Regions from separate parts of the Homo sapiens genome. Here all the other regions are linked to region 1. The links are contacts of gene promoters, found by promoter capture Hi-C in blood cells and fetal thymus (Javierre and others, 2016). All regions are on one chromosome and are shown on one strand. The core of a region is centred on a gene start or on the middle of the fragment in contact, and the rest is flanking DNA. Distances in the headings are between cores, read along the strand shown.

Region 1 (4,208 bases), core at 540-3,039:
CAGAGTGACTAATCATTTGTCCATCAGCACTGTCATCAGCTGTAAAGCTGAAACTTGACCTCAAGTCTGTCTGACTCTAGAACTGTGTAGTGTATCCACATTATGTGATTCGCACATCTAGAAATCGGCCCCAAAGCAGACTACCCTCAAGGAAAAAGCAAAGAGAAAAACAGGCAGCAGAATGGTGAGCCCCTAAATCCTGGCACTTGAGCAGTGTGAGGGTGTCCCTTTAAGAACGTAACACACAAACCCAACAGCCAAGGTGTTCAGCCAAAAAAGAAAAAAAGAGAGGCATATTTCTAGCCTGCATAATCATTTCTGGACCGATTCCCACTAGCAGCCTCTGAGACGAACAGCAGCTCACAGCCTCGGCTGAAGCTCCTCCACCCCCAGGGTGGCTCTGACTAGGGCGCAGCTCTGACTAGTGTGCAGGCAAAACCCCAAAACTCAAAACAAGAAGTGAAAAAAGTGGAGCCAGGAAAAATTCGTCGGCATCCTCCACAGCCTTACAATCCGCACAATGCCAGTTCCAGGGTCCTGGGGTCGCCCGGAAGGCAATCTTAGGAGAGGGTGGAATGAGATGGAAGTTCCTGCGGACCTACCGATCCTATTCTCTCCCACCCAGTCCCTAGGGAAGCGTAATAGGAAGGGGAGAAGGTTCGTTATGAAATCCTGGGGCCAGAACCAAGGGCAGATACACCCCGGGGACTTTCTCCTAAAGAACAAGATGTCTTTCCAAATTCTCCACCTGCAGGTCCTGTCCTCTGTGAAGATGAACGGGGTGGGGTGGTGAGGTGGCGGGGTGTTGTAAACCTGAGGAAAGGTTGGAGGGAAAATCAAGCCACCCACCTACTCCAGCCACGTTGCCCGGCGGTGTTGGTGAGGCTCGATGCCGGCGTGCACGGCAAGCGCGAATTCGGAACCTGGCGCCCTTGACCAAGCCTGAGATCGGAAAGGGGGCATCGCCCAGGGCCAGCGCCCTGGGGGCAGGGTGCCGTGCCCGCCAGAAAAGCTCGCCTCAGTTTTGGCAGTAATGATTTTCCTAGAAGATGCCAGAGTTCGCGAAGATCGGAGTGATTCGCGGATTTCTGCGCTCAAGCTAGAGGCGCAGCGACCCCGAGCTCCCCCACACTGGGAGCCTCGGGGCAGCATTCTCGGGGCCCATGCCATCGCGGGGACGGTGCGGAAAAAAAGGCTCCATCCTCAACTTTCTCGGAGGAAATCGCTCCGTTCTGCGGCTTGCCCAATACTGCCCGCACAACGGGTCCCAGGGTTGGAGAGAACCAGGGACACGAGTCCCTCTCTGCGCGCACAAAGCAGCTGCGCCGGGGCGCGCGGCCCCCTCTCCCGCCACCCGCCAACTTGGAAGAATCTCTCTGGGAGCCTGCCTACTCCCCTGGCCTCACAGCCACCCGCCTCGGACGGAGCGCCAGGCGCCCCAACAGCCGTGGCGGCTGCAACCGCATCTCCCGGGCTTGGCCTCCGCCCTGACCGCCTGGCTCCCCTCGCCCCGGTCCTACCGTGCAGCCTGGCTCGCGCCCCTGCCGTGCCAGTGCGCGGCACGCGTCCCAGAGCACGAGGCTCCTCCCCGGGGGGCTGCCCCGCGCGGGGCTCCGGGCTCCGGACAAGGCTTAGCCGGCCCGGGTGCTGGCTCGCCGCCGCTCGCGGCTCCCGCGCCGGCTCCTGCTGCCGCGCGCGAAAAGGGAGGGGTTGGGGGGAAACTCCCGGCAACTCCAACTCCGGGCGCTGGAGCTCCAGCTGCAGCCGCGCGCCCGCCCGCCGCCGAGTGCGAGCGCCTGCGAAGCAAACCTGCCCGCGCGGCCGCCTCTGAGCATGCTCAGTGCCGCCGTGGGCGAGCCCGAGCGCCCTGGCCCGGGGCAAAGAGCAGCGGCTAGGGGCTGGGGGCTGGGGGCCGGGACCCGCGACCCGCCCCAGGCCTCGGAGCGCGGAGGTGGCAGAGGAAGGGAAAGGCCAATGTAGGGGCGGGGGCCCTGAGCCAAAGACCCGGGAGAAACCGATCTGGGTGCAAGAGCCGGTGCGACTTTCACGGCTTGTGGGAAGTTTGTGGGCTAGAAAGGTGGGCTGCTTCTGTGAGCTTCTCTGTGAGACTATATTCGAAAGGACAACCAGGAAACATTTTTTTTTTTCTCTAGGAAAAAACGAATAGACCCAGCCGATGGGTTTTTATCCTGTGCGCTCCTTCCTTTATTCTTACGATAGCAAACTCAAAGATCTAATGGGGCCTGACAGGCACTGTAACTGGGGGAAGGCGAACTGGAGAGAGCTCCGAAGGCAGGGCCGCTTATCTGCTCTCAGGGTCCCTTGCTATCGGGCAAGAATTAGACCTAGTGTTGCTAGATTTTCTGATTTTTCCAGAAATGACGGAGTATATTCATGTACAATATCCTGATTTGTAAAATCTTGATAACAAATTCAATTTTCTCAAAACACCCTGGACTAAACAAAACATATCTGCGTCCCCTCCCTGCTGAACCCCCCAGACAGTGATTTGAGCATTGTGATTCTGCACTCTTTTAGCGAAGTGGTGCTGAGTGCTCACTGTGGTTTGGGAAAGTGCTGGAAAGGATCCAAGATGATTCAGAATATCTTCGAAGTACTACTAGTTACTAGGGGAAATGGGTTTTCCTGACAGTAGAGCGCTACACTTAAATGCTGGAGCGTTCAAGAAGAAAGACGTTACTAATGTAGAAAGCGGTTGTAAGAACTAACTTTTGGGAAACATCATTAGTAAAAGTATCTGTGTGGGGAGTCACTGCAGGGCCGATAACAGTGCCCCGGAAGGCACTTTTGAGCCTGAAGCAATAGGAAAAACCCCTAAACTTACCCTGTCTTTATTTAAAATTTTGTTATTTTTCATCATGCATTTTTGATATTAATTTTGATTTTTTTAAATATTCCATTAAAATATTAACCTTGATTACTGAATTCTTTGGTGAACCTTTAAGTGCTGTGACTCACCTCACCCTAGCCTGGCCCTGTTGGGGTGTTAGATGGTGGTACACAGACCTGCTTGTTTGGAGTGCAAGGGGTAAGCATTAGCATAGTGAAATAGGAAAGAGGGTTTGAGCTGTGGATGGGGGCTCAGGCAGAAGTCCTGACTGTCAGTCTGTGGCTCCTGCACTTAGTTTGTAGACTACGTGGAGATAGCAGAGATGCTGGGGGAGGAGACAATCCGAACTGAATTCTGTGAAGATGGACAGGGCAGCAGACCCAGGAAGATGGTTTGGAGGGGAAGAATGGGAGAAACGGGGATACCTAGGATATCATAAAACTGATACCCTAGGTATCCCCATTTGGTAGCTACAGTTTTATGAAAATCAGAGAAAATTGCCTGAAAAAGTAAGTTTCTTTTGCTCTGCCTATCTCTGTAGAGACATGTCATGGGGCTACCTTAGTGCCAATGAGTAGTGTGCCGGGGTCCTGGTCTTAACCTCAGCCATTTCCCTACCAGGCTTCCATGGGCAAGTGGCTCAACCTCTAAGCTTCACTTTCCTCATCTGTGGAAGGGAAAACAATTCTCATGGCGTTTTTGTGAGAATCCAAAGAAATGTATGTCTAAGGGCTTTGAAAATGTTGAGAGTTCTTACCTACAAGTCATCTATGTAAAATTTGAATTGAAATAAGGGCCTTTTTGCTTGACAAAAGCTCTAAGTAGCAAGCTTCTTTAATTTAGCAAGCCTTTCTAATGTGTTGGGATGATATTTACAAAACTTTGGAATCAGCTTTTGGGTAACTCAATAATTTTGTGAAGTAAGATACTACTGTACTAGCTTCTATTGCCAGTCATCTCCCTCTACTACCTTCCTTTTTTATCTTCACTTGCCTCTTTTTGTTCTCAATATTGCAGATCTAGTCAAGAGGACTCTCTCCCTCTGTACAAAGTGTTCTCTAACTCATGTACCGGTCATCACGGTAGTGTCTGCCTCAAACACCTGGGACCTACCTTAGTGTGGGAGGTGATTCTCCCTGCAGGTAACCTAATTTGTTGCTGCATTCATGGAGAACAAACCACTGCTTATCTATGGGAAGCATTTTAAGCATGCAGACCTCTCAAAGAAAACAAAAACAAAAACAAAAACAAAAAAGACCGTGGATGTTTAAACAAGAAGCCTTCCAGAAGTCATGTAAAGGAGGAAGTACCTAGCCCAGGATCTGTCACATAACAAGTAGTTACAAATATTTGCAGA
Region 2 (4,208 bases), core at 1,271-3,770, 210 kb before region 1:
GCATCATCTTTCTTTACTTAAGTTCGGGGGTAGAATCATATCCATTATTTGAAATCTGAAATTGCTACCTAACTATATTCTCAAATTGCATAATCACAAGTTAAGCTCTTTCTGTGGACACATTTGTGTATATGCTTTAGTCAAAAGCAGGAAAAAAAATAGCCAGCAAAATGTTGCTCTGTGGTTTTGGGAGTGATGGGCAGGAGGAACTGTGTTAGCAGGTTGGAACTCTCAGGTCCCAGGACTTTGGGGCTGAGTACACATAGAACACCTAACATCCCAGTCAAGTTAGAGCTCTGCTACAGGAACTTGTGCTCATTTCGGCAAAGGCTAGGACAGAATTAATCTCTGCAAAATTAAAAATTAAGAGTCAATCAATAAATAGGGCATATAATACTACTATTAATTAAAAGGGTCTAAGATACAGCTCTAACACGACAAGCTGTATGAACATCTCTCAGACTTTCCCATCCTAAGAGATGTCTGCCAGACTGAGTCATCTCCAGGGAGGGTAAGTGTCAGAGATGCCCTGGTGAGCTGTGGATGGCTGGAAATAACAACTGGAAAGGAAGAACAACAGCTAACAATCTCCTGGAGTTTGGCTGCCAAAAAGAATCTTTCCTTCTTATTAAATTCTGATCAAAGATCTAGATTCAGTTTCCCAACTGAGAGCTTCACTGTTTTTTCTAATTTTAATTTTTATTTTTTGAGAAAGAGTTTCACTCAGTTGCTTAGGCTGGAGTGCAGTACACGATCTCAGTGCATAGCAATGATCCTCCCACCTCAGCCTCCCAAGTAGCTGGGATTATAGGTGCATGCCACTACTCCTGGCTAATTTTTGTACTTTTTGTAGAGATGAGGTTTTGCCACATTGCCCAGGTTGGTCTGGAATTCCTGGGCTCAAGCAATCTACCCAACTCGGCCTCCCAAAATGCTGGGATTATTGGTGTGTGTCACTATGCCCAGCAAGCTTCACTGGTTTTTAAATAAGCATCAACATATCTGCTGTGGTCTGTAACTGTGGAATTGGAGGAAATGTGGACATTCAAAAAAAATGGCCAGGCTGGGCGTGGTGGCTCATGCCTGTAATCCGAGCACTTTGGGAGGCCAAGGCCAGTGGATCATGAGGTCAGGAGTTCGAGACCAGCCTGGCCAATACGGTGAAACCCCATCTCTACTAAAAATACAAAAATTAGCCAGGCGTGGTGGCTCGCACCTGTAGTCCCAGCTATTCGGGAGGCTGAGGCAGAAGGATCGCTTGAACTCGGGAGATGGAGGTTGCAGTGAGCCGAGATCGCACCACTGCACTCCAGCCTGGGTGACAGATCGAGATCCCGTCTCAAAAAAAAAAGAGAAAAAAGAAAAAATGGCCAGTAACTTAAGGGCCCTTTCATGTCTTATTAAGCACCTAGAGGCTAATAATTCCTTTTAGAAATGTTCTGAGGGAGAGTGAGCAAGATTGAGCATAAACAGCTACATTCATAGACAACTCAACTGCCCTTCCTTATTTAATTCCTGCTACTTCTTATCGATTTGAAAATTTCTAAGAGATTTAAATTGTGATGCTTTCTATAGGCTGAGATTAAAAAGTCAACCAGGCTAAAGAATATGAAACAATAATAAAAAAAACCTAAACCATTAAAAAAGGTAAAAGAGAGCCCAGATCATAAAAAGTCCAACAGGCCATAAAATGAAGGCTGGAAACATTACAAAATCTCCCTTCTCAACTGGGAGCCTGGCCAAGCAACTACACGGGAGTTGAGTTCTGTGATTGTGAGTGAAAGTTGCATTGTCTGTCCCCGCCTGCCCTCCTTCTGTTCTGATCTCTAATTTTAGACATATCTGTGTTGACAGCATCCCTTAACAAAAAGATCAGCAGCAAGCTGTTCAAGTCCTAATCTGACATTTCCCACACGGAGAGAAAGGAATGGAATTCCTTTCTCTTTTGTGGATCTTTGCTCTGGGGTTGTAACTAGTAAGTTATCACAACTGGTTGGTACCAGCACATCACCAATTCATACAACACATGCTGTTCATTTACCTTAAAAAAGGACTAACCATAAGCAAAAGAGAATTTGGTTCATGATCTATAGATACATTATCCCATAGTCTCCTAATCAAAATTTAGAATATACAATTGAGCAACAGGACATTATACCCTACGTCTTGAAAAAAAATTTAGTCAAATTTGATTCTGTGTTTGAATAATCACATCTCTGAGGTGACTGTCCCTAAAAACCCAAAAAGTATGGTAATCTTGTATATTGTGTGACTTGTCATTCTTGAAAAAGAAAAGTACTAATAGCTAATATGTACTGTATTTACTCAGCGCCGGGCACTGTTCAAAGTTCAAAGTGCTCTGTGACAACTCATTTAATCCTCAAAACAACTTTGGGAGATAGGTACTATTATTATCCCTTCTTTACAAATGAGAAAACTGAGGGTCAGCTAAATAATTTGGCTGAAATCATAATGGTAGGCAATAAAAGATGTAGGATTTGAATTAGAATTCTTGCTACTGAATCTGTGTTCTTAACCACCGCTTTCTAGAGAGAAAGAGGACAAAGAAGGCAAGTCAGTTCTCAGCCCTGAGAATTCCACCTGGCTGATCTTTGTCATCAGTAAATATTTACTGACTCCTTATCATGTGATATGTTTTAGGTATATTACAGCTAGTGTTTTAGGCATGCCTAGTGTTTCAGGTATATTATGTTATTTAATCCTCCCCACAGTACTGTATGGGAGAACTACTACTCTATTTTACAAAAAACAAAAACCATGGCTTAGACAGGTTATAAATTGCCCAAGGATATACTTATGGTGAGTGATGGAACCACCTCTGCTGGTTCCTTTGGGATTATCATTGATTTGAAAATAAGGTGAACAGCTATTGGCAGGAGATTCATGGTACTGAGGAGGGAAGAGGACTACTTTCCAGGCTAGCTGGCATTCTCCTTATGATGCAGGGCTGTGTATGTGACAGAGGCCTCTTGAGCCTTTACTTTTCCTCAACAAGATGCGACCACAGGATTGCTTGGAATTCAGATTCTTTCCTCCACTTTAGCCCATCAACAGATTGATTCCTGACAACATGGCTTTGACAGTGTGATTCTTTGTTTAGCCTTCTTGCCTTGCTTGTCCCAGCACTGTGCCAATTTGGGCCCATTACTCCCAGAGCTTTCCTGGCTTCTGCTCCATTGTTCTAAAGAAGGGATTACTGACACACACTTTGGATCATTTCATTCTGAGGGCTTTAGGCTTTATCTGAGACTGCAGGTATGAGAGTTCTCTCTTGGGAATCTACCTTCACCTTTACTGCATTTGTCAACTCTTCCCCACATACAGGAGTTTGTAATTCGAGACAGACACTCATTTCATCAGAGATAGAGTTTGCCCTCATAAATTCTCTGAGCTGATTTTGGATAATTTTCAAGAAAAGAGGTGACTATCCTTTATATTCTATCATTTTAAAACTAGAAGTCTAACAAATGTAACTGCTTTTTTTTTTTTCCTGTCAAATTAATTCAGTAGCTATCCTTCTTGGAATGAACTTTAGCATGGATTAACTATCCATTGAACATACAGCATGTATTCCTTATTACTTTTGTTTAGAATTTTATCTCCAGTTATTTCAAGAAAACATTCCAAGTAATTTTAAAATAATCATTAAGACAATTAAGTTTGGCAGTGTATTTTTACCATGTTTGCAATCGTTACAGTTTCTTACACTCCACTCCTACCCTTTGGGTTCAGTGTGCTTCATGTTGAAGCACATCATTTAATACTTCTATCAGCAAGGGTCTAGAGGTGGTGAATAATCAGTCTTTGCTTTTCTGAATATATCTTTGTATTTCTCTTACATCTATATTACAGTCTAGCTGGATACAGAATTCTAGATTGACAGTTATTTCTGGAACTTTGAAGATATTAATGTATTGACTTTTGGCATCTCTTGTTGCTGGGAACAAGCCATCAGTTTATCCTTCCACAGTAGGAAAACTGTATTTTTAATAGCTTTTAATATTTTCCCTTTGTCCCAAGTGTTCTATTGCATTATGTTTTTCTCTAGGTAAAGCTTTATTTTCAAGTGTGGCACTTGGTGATATTCTCAATCTGAGTCTTCAATTCAGCAAGTTTTAGCCATCATCTTTTCAAATACTGGTTTTCTGCCATTCTTAAACCTTCTTTAAAAATTCCTATGAGATGAA
Region 3 (4,208 bases), core at 1,035-3,534, 190 kb before region 1:
ATCCAAGTGTATGGAGAGTCTACATTTCTCTGTTTATGAAGCAAACCCCAAATCTTACAGTATTGATACATGTTCCTAGGAAACTAGTATCACACAAATTGAGATAGCCTAACTAAACACTGACAAATGTCAGAATTGAGACCATGTATTATCTTCCCAATTTCCTGGAAAAGGGATTCCTTTAGGTTCTCAGCAACGACCTATATTAATCTGGCCCCTAAACTTTGGTAGGAAGATTCCCTCTTGTTATTTTAGTCTATAGTAACAATTTATATTTTATTATTCTTCATTATTAGCATTTTGTGAGGTGTGCATGTGAGCAACGGGAATGTACTTTGCATAGATAACTATGCCATAAAATGTTTCTCCTATTAAAAGCAAGGGAATCACAATGCATACTGAAAGATACCATTCATTTACTTGATTTTTGGTAAATACACCTTGTCATTAGTGCCAGTAGGAGATAAATGAGGTTTTGGTAAACATGTTTTTTTTTTTCCATATTGATAACCATCGATATGATTATCTGCACTCTGAACTTCGTACTTTGCTGATCAATGTTACCGGAGGTCACATTTTTTCAATATGCATTCTGTTAGATTCCTCTATTAAACATGATGAAAAGATTTATAATTTCCCATAAGAAAGGACTCTGTATCCGAAAGTTTTAATCACATAATTGAAATAGAGAAATAGCCTTCTTAAGAATGATTCAAACCACCACTACCACTACCAAGGTCAATCAGAGAGTCATCTTGTGAAAAGAATGCCTTTGCTCAGCATTGGACAATTCACTCACCCCATTAGGATCGATACCATTAACCTGGCGAAGCTGCTCGAGCATCCACTGTGATCTCCGAACAAATGATGTGGAGCCTTCAAACTGTTTGACCTTTGTGATGGACGCCTGTGTGGGTTTCTTGTTTGTCACTGCCAAGAAAAGATCACTCAGATTAGTGCACCTGCAAGTTGGTGGTTTGTTTCCACATTCAGTGCTGTTTCTACAGGACACCTACTGTGTATATGCACAATAACAGAGAGAAGGCAGAGGGGGAAAGGAGGGAATATGAATAAATATGTGTGCCTTTGGTCAGGGGTGAACGTAAAGGAAATAGATGTTACAATCTCCACTCTGAAGCAGTTTACAATATAATTATAATTGTAAGGGCTGCTTCATTTATGTGTTTATCCATTCAAACTGAAAATGACTTAAGTGAATAACACCAAGCACCTTCAATGGAGGCTATAAGTGCACAATTACAGCTTGCAGGAAAAGAAGCATATAGTACTGACAGGCATCAGGTAAGGTTCACTGGGAAAGGCTGAATTTGAAAGGAAATGAAGGTAATTGGCTCCCCTAGAGAACTGCAAGGTATATTTCTAGTTTTATAGTCCAGTGTAAACATCTTAGGCTTCAGTGATGAGGAGTAATCCCTAACTCAAAAAATCCCCAAACTATTTGGCTCTCTAATATTGTTCAGTTTGTATCTAGTTTGCATCTAATTATGATTGAATCTGGTGTTCTGGGCACACCTCCACACCTGTAGGAAAAGGACAATTTCTTCTCTCAGCCTCAGTGAGTTCTTCCCCTAAGCCTTTCTGTGCTAAAGATGGACAGCATCACCTCTCAGACTGAAGCCAAGCATCAGGCACCAGGAGAGGCACTCTGAATATTTCTACATCTGCCTACTTTGTGACATGGAGACTCAAGGGTAGGAAGTAATTAATTGTCTTTAAAGGGATTTCCTAAAAGCTTCTCCTGAACCCTGGCTATAGGAATTAGCAAATTAAATAGAAAGGAACTACAGAAAGTAGAAATCATTATTGGCTATATTGAAGATGATCCTAATTACTGACTTGCTGAAGACTATGCATCTGTGGCATATTCTTTGTTTCGAATCACCCCACAGATTCCACACTTTCGAATAACTATGTAGATGCTCAACAGATGGCAAAAAGAATTCTGAAGGGATGAAGTACAGAAAGCACCTACTCCAATCACAGTTGGTGAGCAGGGAGACTCTACAGTTCACGCATTCCATAGCTTATTGCAGTTTCATTGTCGGGGGCCATTAAAGCAGGAGAGCAGAGACAAAGGAAAGGTGGCCACTGTCCTTAGATCTAGTGAGAACCCTACTTTCCCAGCACTGAAAACCACCTTTATGGCCTGAGTACTATCTACTCTCTCTGCTTCCAACCAAAATTTAGTGAAGATTTGTTTTTAAGTTCAAATAATGTTTTGGTTTATCACCCATTATTTCAGTTATATTTGCTAAAAACTTCTGAATATTTCATACCAATTACATTTACTTTTATGATTAAGAAGTCATCATCCCCTTAACACCCACAATCAGATGAAATTTTATAGTCTTCTATTCACAAATAGGAACAACCATTCCCTCTAATTGAATTCAGGCAGTATTACCAGTCTGCCCAGGACTCTGTCTATCCATTTAATTCGATTCATTTATTTTTTGTGTCTCCTATGACACAAATGGGAGACCTAATAGGTTTCTCTGATGGCTGTGACCTGCTCTTACGTTTTAATGTTAAAGAAAACAATACACCTGGAATACAGGCAGGTCTTAAAATGTGCTTAAAAGATTAAAAAAGGCTTTTCAATAACAGGAAAACATGGGTTCCTGTATTAGACACACACCCCTAAATGCACAAAGAGAATTTCCTCCTGTGTTTATGTAAATCATACAACATTTAAGCCTGGGAAACATAAAGGCTTTCTTTCTAACTTTAAAGTTGTTATGAGCTCCTATTTTCACTTCTGGTCCATTTGCTTCCAAGTAATTTACAGCATTTTAAAAGCTTCAACACAACTCGAGATCACTGTATATTGCGGGCATGTTTTAAGATTCACATCTAAGGAAGGTAAGTTCCATTGAAAGTTTGTCATTGAAATGAGGCATGCAGGAACCCCAACTATTATGACAAATGACCCCATGGAATTCCTCCACAGTGATCACACTGCAGAGCAGTCATTTTTAATGGAGGCAGTTGCAACTCTATCCATTCCTGCCTTTCCTCCCCTATTAGTTTATTCCTTGCCCAGTTCTTGGAGTCTGGCTAGTTTTCCTGGGCACTGAGCCTGGTTGGTTTAATTTTTGTTTATTGTTATTATCTCCAGCATCCTAGTTTCTATTTTGAAGCAGGTGTCTTAAAATTATATTATTATATACACATCGTATAGAGTTAAATTAAGACTTTCCCCTTCTGAAATCAAAACACTTGCACACACACACACCATTGCCAGACTTTTTGAGTACATACTTGAGGAAAGCATGCTTTAACTATTTCATTGTTTTGTTGTTTTGGGAGTCAGTAGCTGATAAAAAATACGCCAGTCACACAAAATCCAGATGTCTAGTGAAAAACAGTGATTCACCTTCTCTTTCCAAAGGAAAGCTAATTGACAGTACACCCTGGAAAATGCAACCAAATTATCTGGATCAGTAATATCATAGAGCTGCATGCTAGAGACTCCCAAAGTCATTATTTTGAATGACTTTAAAGGTCAGGGGATTTCCGTTATGGCTTCAACATTCACAGGGAAGAGACCAACACAGAGGCATTTAAAGGAATAGGGTGGGTATGACTCCCAGGTAATACTGTAGACCACTCTGAAGCAGCCGATTCTCCGGCTTCCTGCACTGGTATCAGAGGCAGGCAGAAGCATGGGGGCAACCCAATTCAGGCCGCTTTGCTATTAGCTCTGAAAAAACAACATGGTTTTCATGGCTTCATGCCTCTTCTTTGGCTTTCATGTAGACTTGCTACTACCTTTCAGCTTTGGTTAAGAAGCAGTGACACAAACTATTATGTCCAGAATATCCAAAATATCACTGCCATCACTACTCCAGTGGAGTAACATCTCTGTCTCATGAACTAATGGTCTAAAGAGCTCTTTTTAAAAATGGCCCCTCCATGAGACACTTTATACAAACAAAATTCGAAAACTTGCTATACTCAAAGGGTGGAGACCACTGACCTTGCCTGTGCCCAATCAGAGAATTCTATTTAATTAAAAACCAATAAGCCAGCCAATAACAAAGACCATGTCATAACAAATTGGTCTTGCAACAAGTCAGGAAAGTAGAACTGGTAGAAGAGGGAACAAAGACCAATGAAGAAAGACAGAAAGACAAGTCACTTGCATGTTATGTGAAATGGGAGAAGAGCTCATATACCGCCAAGAT
Region 4 (4,208 bases), core at 751-3,250, 170 kb before region 1:
CACCCTGGTTCACTCTTCTCTGAATGACGGGAACAATGAGGGTGTAGGACAAGAATGCAGGAACAGTGTCCAAGCATAACTGATGCTGGCTGTGTCTGCCTGAACTCCTGTGCATACTCTTTTCCTAAGACAATATGTATAACAATGCATAGACCACCATGCCCACCTTGGATAGACAGATGCCTTCTTTTGCTGATGTGCAGATGCAAAAGCCCTTCGTTGTCAATTCTGCTGCCCTACAAATGAGATAAGGGAAGCATTTGTAGGATCACAAACTAAAGTTAGTATTCACTGAGCACTCCAAACGGGAACTTCCAAATTTTAAGTAACGGCAATTTTTAAGAGATGGAGGAAGAAAAAAACCACTTGCTTTTTCCTTGGAAAATTGCTCACTCCCTCTCTCTTCCTTTTGAGGGTACAGGGAATATTTTCTGGCCAGTCGTCTGAATTGAGGGCAGGGTGTTGTGGGGAGGGCATCCCTATTAAAGCTAGGGACAAGGGAGATGAGAGGGATAGTCACTCAGATTCTGATGTCCAGTGCTTATGCCCTAATTTCAGATTTGTATTATGGGACTCATTATACTACTAGCCTCCATTTCTAGCCAACATTTCCATAGAGTGTTGCTCAGGTATGTTCAGAAGAGTGTGGAAAGCCCCTTGCCCTAGTTCCACCGACGGGTACAGACTTTATTATGCTATAGGGTCCATCCCACCCATGCCGTCTCAGCCACTATCCTTGAAAGGCTCTGGAGAAACACAGCCAGAATCCAAATCGCTCCCAAATGTAAACAAGCTTTGTTCACCAAAGCATAAAGCCAAGCAGAAAGCTAGGATGGTCCATGTATTGTCACAGGTAGAAGGTCATTTTAATTCAAAGAGTAAAGCTAATTAAGTGACTATTTTTCAGATATGAGAAAAAAGTTGTTTGCTGAGACAACAAAGTAGAAGGAAATTTATGTGAGAATCCATAACATGTTTCCTGCTGGGGGTCTTAGACAAGGTCCCTTTGCAGGGGTCCCAGCACTACACGGTGGCTCTTTCAAAGAATTACACATCGACCGGCTGTCTCCTGAGAGGATGGGGATGCTCCTTCCTGACTCCCTGTGAGTGGGAACACGCTCATTAAAATGGCTCTCCAGTGGAAGCCAGTGTTTCTGCTATCAAATCACCCTATCATTCCTCGCCTGCTCCATCATGGGCCAAAACAGCACAGGATTTGGCCTAGAAACTAAGCAATCCCTTCTGCAAAGGAAGCTGCTCTACATGGAGAATGAACCTTGTACCCATTAGCACTGACTGCAGCTAACTGAATAACAGCAGCAGCTCTAACAGGGAGGAAGCATCGGAGAGAAAGCCCTGGACCGGGAGTCAGGAGGCTGGGGGTCCTGTGCCCATTCTGCCTACCTGTCCATGGACATTACATGTGTCTTTTCCTATCTGGGTCTCAAAAACACCAGATGAGAAAGACCCTAAGAGCGCCCTCACAATTCTATGAGTCACAGAAGTGCATGCTGCCCACTGTGATGCCCCTTCTCTCAAGCCTGGAGATCTCACTGATAAAATGAGAAACAGAATACCACTTTATAGATAAAAATAGTATGATTGATCTTTACATAAAAGCTGAAAATGTATAATGTCTATTCATTTTAAACGTCCAACACACAAAGAATCTTCAACTCTTTATGTCCAGGCATTGTTTTAGGACTCATTTGAGATTCTTAAAAAGATTGTTGGATGAACTGTTGGGGTGGGGTAGCAAGGGGAGGACTCTTGGCAGGAAGGAGCTTCATGCTATGAGAAATCTATTCTGTTGAAAGTGGAAAGATGTTATGCTCATAACTTTCCTAAATTCCCCTGGAGGGAATCATAGCCGAATATGAGACATTTATGTAAATTTTCTATTTCACTTAAGAGGAATTTAAACTGCCAACACTTGAATCATAAAGCAGTGTGACTATTCTTCTGGAAAAATCTGAAGGCACAAATAACATTCATCAAAAAATATTTACTGTGTGCATACTGAAGGAAAAGTGACACAAGGGGTAAGGGTGGCGGGAGGGGAAATGAGTTGAGGGGTGGAAATAGGTACAAGGTGATTGAAGTGCAGTCATATTCATCAGGGGGTTCACATTTCAGAAGAGAAATGACAAGTTCCTAAGCGTTGAAATAGTGGCAGGATATGATAAATACGGCACTGTGTATTTATTATCATCACAAGTGTATAACACCAAACAGAGTGGAGGGGTGGGGTGAGAGGTGGGTTTTTGGTGGATGCAGGACAGCTTCTTTATGAAAGCAGTGTCATTTGTGCTGTGGGTGGAAGGCTGATAAGGATCAAGGAAAAGAGAAGCAAGGCAGATCTCATTTAACTCTGAAACTACCCTTGTGCTTCCATAACTAAAAAGAGGAACCCTACTAACCGGGAAGGCCTGCCTTACAGGTACAGAAATAAAGCCAGCCAGAGAGCAGCTGATTTCTTTTAGATTGCCTTGACCTGGGATGAATCTTAAGGCAACTCATATCCTGGCCAAGAATTCTGGATACTCTATGCTCAAACTTAATGTTTAGGAAGTAATCTTGTTAAATACATATTTATATTGAAAAGCAGAACTCCAAACTTCCTCATCTTGTTTCCTGGCCTCAACACAAAGGCACTATTATTTTCTTGAAAAGGAAATTATTCCAGTGCCCCTGCCCAGGCTCTGACAACACATGTTTGCCCTCAATCTCCTTCCTCTTCTTGCAAGGACACCCATAGTTATAACTCACATTAGTATGGGGCAGCACAAGGGGTTTGACATAGAAGCAGCAATGATGTACTTGTGTTTCTGCTTAAACTGTGGAAACGATGTTCCTGAGAGAGAACACTGAGAATCTTACTTCCCTTGAGATACGCTATCCATTAGCAATTCAGCTGCAGGGCAAGGTTCACTTAATTTTAAAATGTAAGTCAAGAGCCTAAAATTGGTAATTGGGCATTTAATTGGGTCTGCGAAGGCACTTACTGGATTTTAACAGCTTCAACTGGTAATGTTTAAGAACATTAAAAATTAGAGCAATGATGAATCAGATGCAAATGGAAAGTGAATGAATTTTGGCACTATAATTTAACACACAGTTAAGTAGTGTTTTGAGCTGAAGATGTTAAGCCTGGTTGGTTTTCTTAAATTTTCTTATATGCCAGGGATTATCAAAATATTTCACTCTTTAAGCTTGGCTTCCCTTCTCATAAAACTCTACTTTGAAGAGTTCAATTCAGCAGGTATATATTTGGCCTAATTGCAATCAGTATTGCTTAAGCTTATAGGGAATGCTAAGAAGTATGAGCTTTATTAATATAGCGTGGTTAAACAAAACAAAGAACATCTGTGAACATATTAGAAATCTGGTCACTCACTGGGGCATCCAGAAGACATTGGCTGGACATCTGCTAATTGAATACAATGGCTCTTTTATGATGGTCTGTACTCAAAGACCTCAAAACCATTTTATAAATGCTGCCAGTGCTTGCTGACTACTTGTTCTTTTTAAAATTTTATTTTAAACATGCAATACATTTTCACACAATCAAAAAATAACATATTGAGACATCTTACTCCCATCTCTGTGTCCATCTACTCCTTTCCATTCCTCTTCCCCTGCCTTCCTGTATACCTTTAGATAATTTCTTTACATGGAAATAACAATAAACAGTCTCATTTCCTCCCTTTCTTACACAAAAGGTAGCATATTATATACATATTCTTTCCTTCCTTCCTCCCTCCTTCCCTCTTTTCCTTATTATTTTATCTCGGAACTCCTCAAGATTCGTGGAAAAAATCTAAATTCACAGCAAACTTCTTCCTACTTTGTATAGCTGCATAACATTAACTCCATTCTAAGGATGAAACATGAACTACTTAACCAGTCCCCCACTGATGGATAGTGAGTTGTTTCTAATCTTTTACTATTGCAAACAATGCTGCATAAATAATTTTGCAAGTATGTTTTGAGAATAAAGTTCCAGAAGTGGATTGGATTACACACTTAAAGAGCAAATGTACTTGTAATTTTAATAAATATTACCACTGGCCTTCTATAAGCAATGTAACATCTTGCACTCCCACCAGAAATCTATATCTATTTCCTCATATACATGCCAAAACAGTGTGTAGTCAAGCTATGCTTTTTGCCAATTTGAGAGATGAGAAATTATATCTCAGTGTAGT
Region 5 (4,208 bases), core at 1,032-3,531, 160 kb before region 1:
CCTCTTCCTGGAATGACTTTCCTGCTCTTTCACTTTTTGTTAACCCCCATTAATCTTTCAGAGGAAAGCTCAAGAGCCACATACCCTGGAAAGCCTTCCTACAACTGGACCAGATCAGGTTCCCTTTATAAATGTTCCTGGCTCTTAGTACTTTTCTTTCCTGGTAAGTATCTCAGTATATAACTATATATGTTTGAAATTATTAGATTACCCCCAACACATGTACACATTAGGTTCTATGGGGTAGTGTCTGTCTTGCTCCCCCATGTATTCAGAGCATCTTATGCAATGCAGACAGTCAATACAAAGGTAATGTATACATTATTTTTTTTTTTTAAAAAGGAAAGAGGTCAGTAGAGAGAAAAAAAGTGGAAGGAAAACAAGGAGGAAAGTGGGGGGAAAAGAGGGTAGAAGAAAGGGGAGAGAAAGAAAAATATTCTAGGTGCAAATTCTGATTTTAGGTGGAAGTATTTATTTTTAGAATTTTTTAAATTGATGTATCTAGCGAGCTATTCTGCTTTAGAAATTTCAGAGGTTGCCAGAGGACTTGGTAAATGAGCCAGATGTTTCTATATTCTTCAAGGGGGGAAATAATTCTGAGGAGGAAGAAATCATGGAGTTGCATCCTTAGAAAGCAATTCTGATTCTGGGCCAACCACACCCCTTGGTTTGAGTCTTTTTCTTCCCAGAAAAGTCATGCAGAGGGCAGGGACCCCCCGCCCCCTCTCCATGTTGTCTTCCATGAGCATTCGGAGCAGACTGCCAGAGCAGGTTTCTGAACTCTGGTCCTTGTGCTCTGGCATCCCATTGACAGCACTGAGTTGCAATCCTCCGGGCCATGCTGTTCCCACACTGGCTCCATCTGGCCTGCAGACCATGAGAGCTGCAATGGGCCATGTGGGAGAACATCAAATATGAGGCACATTACTAAGATGTTATCAAGCAGGAGCAGGGGCTTGGGCAGAAATGGGAGAGAGCCGAGTGGACCTTGCACGTTCTCAACTATCAATTACTGTAACTAGAACTCCCACAGCCCTGAAGAGGGAGCAGAATGAGCCTCATTTTCCACATTCCGCTGCTTTGAAGTGCTCTGCCAAGAGACATTCAGCAGGAGAGCCCAGGAATGGCACTCTCAACAGCCAGGCTGCAGAGGGGCTTGGGCTGTCTCTCCTGCAGGTATGGTGCACACAACCTGACCACTGTTTTCTAGGTGAGCTGTGGTAGTAGATCCCAGAGACTCAAATGCCCAGAGATAGTGACTGTCTAAAAATTATTGATTTTGATCTAATGATAGTAATATTTACAGAGAAACTAGCCTTTCGTATGAACAATACAGCTCTAATGACAAAAACAACAATAGCTAACACTTGGGATGTGAGTGCTTATCATGTGCCAGGACCTATTCAAAGTATTCTGCATATATTAACTTATTTAATCTTGGCCACAAACCTAAAGAACTTACCACTTAAATCCATTTTACACATGGAGAAACCAAGGTACACAAAAATTAAGGAATTTGCTCTAGACCACACAGCTAAGTTGCAGAACAGAGATCAGAGCTTTGGCTATCTGGCTTCAGGGTCTGTGTTCTTATTCGCCAAGCAGTGCTGTCTTGCTCAGTTGGGAAATTCCCAAGCACTTAAGAGTGTTAGGTAACAGGCAATATATATAAAAACAAAAAAGCCTCCATCTGTGCAAAATATGGGGTACTAATGTGGGACCTGTGACTTCCAATTATGACTAAAGTTTTGTGAATAATCCCTAACACAAATGCCTAACAAATAAAAATTAGGGCTACAGGGATACTCAATGGTCAGTTACTTCATTTTGTTGTCTTCAAATGGCAATAAAATATATGTACCTCCCATTAACATTTTCCAGAAATTCCCAAATTAGAAAACAGACTTCCTTAGTAACTGTAAGATCACAAATATCAATGCCTTTAAGGAACAGCTAGCTTTACAGTAAAATAATTCTAAGTCTGAACTTCAGTCTAGTCATTCCTCTTTTGGGTTAGTGGCATTTTATAAAAAGACCATATAACACAAAATGATAATTAAATATAAATAAGAATAAAAATCAGGACCAAGGATCATAGAAATAGGGTTATAGCATCAAATCAGGGAAAAGAAAAAAACATGTGTTATACAGGTTCTATGGTAAAAGTAGAATGGAAACAGATTAAGTCATGTTAGGGAATTTGAACATGGTTTTAGAAAATTAGGCAAGACTATTAAAATTCAGCTTGCATTTTAGAAATAAAAAAGTTTTTGCAGAGTTGAGGATTGCCTGAATGGAAATGGACAAAAAGACAAAGACCAATTTGGAAAGTATCTCAGGGTCTCATAAGAGAGAAGACGTAGGTCTGAAATAAACCAGTGTAAAATGATGAGGACTTAGGGACTCTCTTGAATGTAAAAGGTGAAAGAATTGGAAGTCCAAGTCTAATGCTAAGATATCTAGGTTGGGGAAAGTGATTAGAGGGTGATGTAGTAAACCATGTAGGAATATACAAGGGGATGCCAGGAGGTGCTGTATTGGCCTGGATTTAGGTCAGGTGGAAATATTTACTAGACAACCAGGACAGCGTGGACTAGAGATAGTGTAGTTAACTGGGGGAGAACCAGGAAAGGTCAGTGTCCCCCAGACAGGAAACTTAATGCTGATGAGAAGAGCCCTAAGCAGATTCCATATCCCCCAATCCATAGAACACAGCATTTTCTTTTGGCTATATTTATCACCTGAGAGTTTGCTTTGCTCACATGTGTTTGCTTTATGGGGTACTTACCACATCTCACAACTCTGCTCACATCTGCATTAACTTTTCTCTATAGACAATGGGGCAGGGACAGAATACCCCTCTCTACCAGCCTAAGGAACTCTTGCATTGTGTACAAAGTGGTAGCTAGCAGACGAAAGGCTCATGGAGACCGTGGCTTCCCAATTGCACAACTTCCCTGAATCTTTATTTTAAAAGTTTTCCATTCTAACTCTTCTCCTTATTTCTCTCTCTCTTTTTTTTTTTTTAATGCTCAGGAAAATTTCTCTAGCTCCTTCCATATCATATCCCACTGGTTTTATGATATTTGCCTTGAGCTTGTCTGGCTATTTTTCTTTCTCGTGTGTTAGTACTAACCTCTAAAATGAGATTTTTTTCTAAGCGAATAAGCCCAAGTCAATATCTCTATTTTTATCTCAAACACTAACCATGGTCCACGTGTTAAGCTACTAAATGTTCCCAAGAACTGTTTTTCTCACAGAAATCAGTCTAATTTATAGTTGGCCAAAATAGTGGTATTTTCCAATATCAGCAGCAAAGGAGCAAGGCACAGAACACAAAAGTGTCCAGATTTTTTTCATTGTGAAATGACCATTTGATTGACTGTAGCCAGGAAATAAAAACCACGAGGAATTCCAACATGTTAACACTGTTTATCCCTGCCTAATTGTACCATTAAGGAAAAGAGATTTAAATGCAATGTGCTTACATTCTATCTAGAGGGCCCATTCTTCAGTTCTGACTTCAACAACAGGACTAGGTTTACTGGCATTCATGTCCAGTGAAAGGAAGGCGGTTAGGAGGAGTCGCAATAACTTTCTCTTCTGTTAAGAGCTCCCGTAGCACTCAGCCACTCCTGGTGGTGTATCCTTGTGTTGGGTAAGCTACCCATATGCCAAATGCTTTCTAGTAGAGGTCCAGACACATACAGGATTGAGGTCAGAGTCATTCACAGACATTCGAAGATATGAATAAAAAAACAAATCCTCTCAAATACGCAGAAGATAGGGTAGGGCTTCCATTATAATAGTAAGTCAGAACACTAAATGTTAAAAGTGGTAGCTGGAGCAATATCAGAGCATAGGCTCTGCAGGCAGCTCACCTGGGCTGACATCCCTCCCTTCCTTCATTAGTTGTGTTATCACGAACACGCTGCCTAACCTCTCTGAGCATGAGGTCCTCACCAGTAACAGGCAAAAATTATACTTCCTCTTTGGGTTGTCTTGAGGAGTAAACGAGATAGTTTATGTAAAGTGATTAACACAGTACCAGCACACAGAACTCACTGAACAGTAGTTACATTAATTATTGTGTTTGTCAAAATCATTATTAGACACCAAAAAGAAGAGTGTGGGGTGTCTTTGGAGGGGCTGGAGTACGGGCTACAAGAAGGATCTCTCCAAGCTCAGAAACCTAAATACAGCATAGG
Region 6 (4,208 bases), core at 976-3,475, 140 kb before region 1:
ACATACCCATGGTCCCAGCTACTCAGGAGACTGAGGCAGGAGGATCATTTGAGCCCGGGAGGTCAAGGCTGCAGCAAGCCATGTTTGTGCTACTGCACTCCAGCCTGGACAATAGAACAAGACCCTGCCTCAAAGAAGGAACGAAGGAAGGGAAAGAAGGGAAAGAAAGAAGAGAGAGAGAGAGAGAGAAAGGAAAGAAAGGAAAGGAAGAAGAAGGAAAGGAAGGAAAGAAAGAAACCAAGCAGGAGGATGTCCAAAGAAAGAAATCAAGCAGGAGGATGTCCAAAGAAAGAAAGAAAGAAAGAAAGAAACCAAGCAGGACGATGTCTCCACTATAGATACCAGCTTCTCAAAGTTGGAAAGCACCTTGGCAGTCATCCAGACCAATTTATATCTAACGCCTGAGTGTCCTCTCTAACAGCCCAACAGTCAGTCATTTGCCTGGCAGTGCTGCTTGGCAATTCCTTTACACAACCACAGTGAATGCCTCATTCCATTTCTCAGAGTGTTCCAAACCTTTATTCTATTATCACCCTTTTCCCAGCAGCCACATCTGCAGCAGAGCACATAGCTTAGAAAAACCAGAAGAGTTCTTTGGTTCCTCCTTGTCTTCCCTCAAATATGCACGTGCACATTTGTGTACATGTTTACAAACCCTTTTTTAAATTGAAATCAGCCTCTCTGTTGTCTTCTACCCATGAGTCTGTGTGTTCTCCAGTCACGGAGAGTTACTCAACTTTCTTGTCCACATGGCAGCACTCCAAATATTGTAAGACAGCAAGTGTGGTATTTTGAGTCTTTTCCATTTAAATATTACCACTGTATTCAACTTGTGCAATGGAAAGAGAGAAACTAACATAACCACCAAGGGTGGGCAGTATCTGTTTGGCATGAGAGTCCCATCAAGCTAGTATTGTACATAAGTAACTCTATTTTTCTATGTACCCAATCTGAACAAGGAATTCGTAGAAGTAAATAATTTTTTAACTACTTGAGGTCTGAGTTAGAATTTAGTGTGATTATTTTCTTATAGCCTTTAAAGCAGCCTCTTCCTTTCAATTTTAAGCAAAACCAAGGTCCTAGACTAGCTTTTCAATCAAATAATTCAAGATTTTAAGAACTAAGTTAAAATATAAAAGGTATCTTGAATGGATGTTACTGAAAATCACCTGATAATAATGTTTGGTATTGTGACAGGGAAAGGTGGCTGGGTAAGGTTTATAGAAAGTGAATGCCAAAAAAAAAAAAAAAAAAGTGAAATGCAGCAACCAGTGTTTGCCAAATAATTGTTAAAATCTTCTATAACAATTTAACAACGTATAGGAATTTGCAATTAGATCTATCCATTTAAAAATCATACAGCCTTACTTTAAGTGCATACTTAATCTAAGGTTTAAATAACAATTTATTAAAAGAATAAGGTGACCAGGAGTGGCAAGAGGTACAAGTGAGTAAATGTGAGTACACTTGATTAATGCTGCTCAAAGTGTGGCCCTCAGACCATGCTATCTGGTGCTGTTCTGCAATAAGAAAAAAATTGCTATAAGGTACTTAGAAGCTTTATAGAACATGGACAGAGTAACTTCATGTCAGTTGAATATAACACTACTTTTTAAAAAAATGTGGACTTGCCTTTTTTTCATTTTTCTAGCAATTTATTTTTATCCTATTTTACTAAAACACTGGTCTAAATAGATTGAAAATTTAAAAACAGGAACTCCACCACAGGTATTTTCAGAAGCCAGCACTAGGTTAACTGGGATTTAACCTATTTTTCTTACTTACATAATTATTCTTTGCAATCCTGAGTTATGAGCCCAATCTTAATGCTGCAAACACCTACCCTGCCAGGAGACGGGTATAATTACAGGGTAATTCACAGACTCATCAAATGGTATGAAACTCAAATTATCTTAAAGGATGCTGAAAAGGAAACCTCCACTGAGGGGATTCCAACAAAAAGTAGCAGCTCAATAGTTATGGTCACACATTCCTTCACTGGCCAAACAGGAATGATTCCTTCTTTGCTGAGAAACCACAGTCCTGGAGATGAGGACCAGTTAATAAGGAATGGGTCATCTGCTATAGTTAACAGGAATGTATTATATAGTTTTAAATAGCTAGAAGGAGGATACTGAATGTTCCTAACACAAAGAAATGATAAATGTTTGATATAAAGGGTATGCTAATTGTTCTGATCTGATCACTATATATAATATGTATCAAAACATCACCATGCATCCCTTGAATATGTACATTATTTGTCAACCACAAAAATTAAATTAACAATACAACAACAACAACAACAACAAAGAATGGGTCATATTGTATGTGTCCGAGGCTACTTTGAGAAGAAAACATCTGCAATCTCTTTTAGAACCCCAGCTCAGATGTATGCTGAGAAGAGGAAAATCTGTAAGACAATTAGACATCACTAAAAGTTTTTAAATAGTCAATTTGAAAAGTGAATTTGCTTTGCTATAGTATATAATTTCCATGTTTAACCTTGTGTCTTAAAGACACTAATTAAAAACAATGAGAGATAAAATCTTTATAGTCTTTGGAAAAACCCTGCTACTATCTTGGTTCACATTTTACCACCAAGGAAGTGGAAATGGAATAAAGTGGTCCCCAGAACAGGGGGAAATATTGTCTCTTCTCAAGGAAGCATTGTGGATGTGGGGAAGGATTCAAGACACATTACAGCTGATAGGCAGTTTGGCCTTTCCCTTTCATCTCCTGAGCCTTGTTTTAGATGTCAATGTGTCATTCTCCAGCAACTCAGGCTTAGCGGGATTTACTGAGCCTTAAATTATGCATCATCTTTCACTGTCATTTGGTAACAGATACTAAAGCTGGTATCAGAAAGTATGCCACTGTGATGCAAGAAATAAAGCTTTTTAAAATTAATTTCTCATGGATTTTATCTTACAGGTACCTTAATTCCTAGCAGCTGAGGTTGACATATTTCTAATTAATCATCTGTCATCCCGAGACTATCTTCCAAGTTTTGGTCACAAGATATATTTTAAAACTGTCCTTGGCTCTTCCCTTATTTTTCAGTATGACAGATTAGTACTACTTTCTTATTAATATGCCTGACACCATTTTATATACTCTCAATCACAAGATTGAGATATGATATTTGCATCTTAACAGGATAGTCAAATGCTTGGCTTTTTATTTTACTTTTTTTAAAAATGAATTTCAAAATACTGGCTACTGTAATAATTTATTATACTGCCCTTAATTAGTCAAAGGACGAAAAATCTATAAACTTGTGACAATAACAAATTTTCAAAGACAGGCTGGTTGCATTATCCTCCCCCTTCCTAAATAAAATATCCATTTCCCCTTTTTCCTCATTTAAAAGAACATATGCAACTATCCTGAATGCCAGGGCCGCAGCCCCTCACAGGCCTGACACAACTCTGCTGGCTCCCTGTTACAGCTGTCTATTTTTTCCCTAAGCTATCCGTTGTCATGAAGACTTCCTTTTTTTAACTTTTGCATTTAAGATGCACATCAGAAAAATGGCTTGTGCATAATTCTTTGATGGAGATTTATGATCTTGATCAAACGATGAATCAAGATTTATGAGCTTGCTTGATAGCATTTGAGTATTTCACTCATACATTTCCAAAGGATGTAGCTCTTAGCTTTACAGATTTTGCTCATTTTCAGAAAATCATCTTCTTGACTGTTTCAAACATGCAAGTGCCAGGCAGCAGGATTGCTGAGAAGCAAAACATTAGTCTCCCTCAGCTTTCACCATTATTATCAGAAGTTATTTATCAAAAAGTTTGGTTCAACATTGTCTTTTTTTAAGGAGAAGAGAGAGGAATCACAGATGAGGACAATTTGTCATGTTTCTCAGAGCTAACAAAAATACACAATTGCATTTCATGTCATTACTGTCTACACAGGTCAGACTTTGTGCTCTCAGTATTCATGTAACAACCTCAATCAGTGTAGAGATAGAATAAAAATGACTAAGAGCACAAATGAGATGGCTTTGTAAATTCTTTCATTTCAACTATGGTTCAGGATTATATTCTGATATAATTCCTTCAGACAGTGGTAAAAGTGAAGTTTTTCAAGAGCCATAGTCAAACAGATGGTCTGCTGAGTTACCCAGACATTACACACAAACTGTGGGGCATGGATTGTTTCACTACTGAAACAATGGACTATTACTATTACCATTG

What was found. The method cuts DNA at HindIII sites, captures the fragments that hold promoters and counts their contacts. A CHiCAGO score of 5 or more calls a contact.
Region 2: a contact is called between a fragment that was not itself captured here and the fragment with the promoter of STXBP6 in region 1, in 5 of 17 cell types (M2 macrophages, M0 macrophages, monocytes and 2 more). The highest score is 11.1, in M2 macrophages.
Region 3: a contact is called between a fragment that was not itself captured here and the fragment with the promoter of STXBP6 in region 1, in 6 of 17 cell types (erythroblasts, M1 macrophages, M2 macrophages and 3 more). The highest score is 9.8, in erythroblasts.
Region 4: a fragment that was not itself captured here is called in contact with the fragment with the promoter of STXBP6 in region 1 in 7 of 17 cell types (M2 macrophages, M1 macrophages, M0 macrophages and 4 more); the score reaches 10.7 in M2 macrophages.
Region 5: a contact is called between a fragment that was not itself captured here and the fragment with the promoter of STXBP6 in region 1, in 4 of 17 cell types (M1 macrophages, M0 macrophages, M2 macrophages and 1 more). The highest score is 8.0, in M1 macrophages.
Region 6: a contact is called between a fragment that was not itself captured here and the fragment with the promoter of STXBP6 in region 1, in 6 of 17 cell types (M1 macrophages, M0 macrophages, M2 macrophages and 3 more). The highest score is 7.0, in M1 macrophages.

What each region holds. Positions count from the first base shown.
Region 1 is chr14:25,048,358-25,052,565 of GRCh38, forward strand. It overlaps STXBP6 (syntaxin binding protein 6), which reads right to left and starts at 1,790. Exons shown (of 6, transcript NM_001394410.1): 1 at 1,521-1,790. It overlaps LOC124903295 (a long non-coding RNA gene), which reads left to right and starts at 1,987. Exons shown (of 2, transcript XR_007064091.1): 1 at 1,987-2,077; 2 at 3,869-4,208. The HindIII fragment of the contact is 7,485 bases long and covers 1-3,501 here.
Region 2 is chr14:24,837,343-24,841,550 of GRCh38, forward strand. All of the region lies in intron 4 of STXBP6 (syntaxin binding protein 6), which reads right to left. Among named protein-coding and RNA genes, the nearest start is that of GZMB, 210 kb to the left of the region's middle. The HindIII fragment of the contact is 3,105 bases long and covers 969-4,073 here.
Region 3 is chr14:24,856,228-24,860,435 of GRCh38, forward strand. It overlaps STXBP6 (syntaxin binding protein 6), which reads right to left. Exons shown (of 6, transcript NM_001394410.1): 3 at 800-930. Among named protein-coding and RNA genes, the nearest start is that of STXBP6, 190 kb to the right of the region's middle. The HindIII fragment of the contact is 1,067 bases long and covers 1,752-2,818 here.
Region 4 is chr14:24,873,769-24,877,976 of GRCh38, forward strand. The region is part of intron 2 of STXBP6 (syntaxin binding protein 6); the gene reads right to left. Among named protein-coding and RNA genes, the nearest start is that of STXBP6, 170 kb to the right of the region's middle. RefSeq lists a silencer at 1,115-1,409. The HindIII fragment of the contact is 2,419 bases long and covers 792-3,210 here.
Region 5 is chr14:24,891,878-24,896,085 of GRCh38, forward strand. All of the region lies in intron 2 of STXBP6 (syntaxin binding protein 6), which reads right to left. Among named protein-coding and RNA genes, the nearest start is that of STXBP6, 160 kb to the right of the region's middle. The HindIII fragment of the contact is 4,896 bases long and covers 1-4,208 here.
Region 6 is chr14:24,911,206-24,915,413 of GRCh38, forward strand. All of the region lies in intron 2 of STXBP6 (syntaxin binding protein 6), which reads right to left. Among named protein-coding and RNA genes, the nearest start is that of STXBP6, 140 kb to the right of the region's middle. The HindIII fragment of the contact is 1,338 bases long and covers 1,557-2,894 here.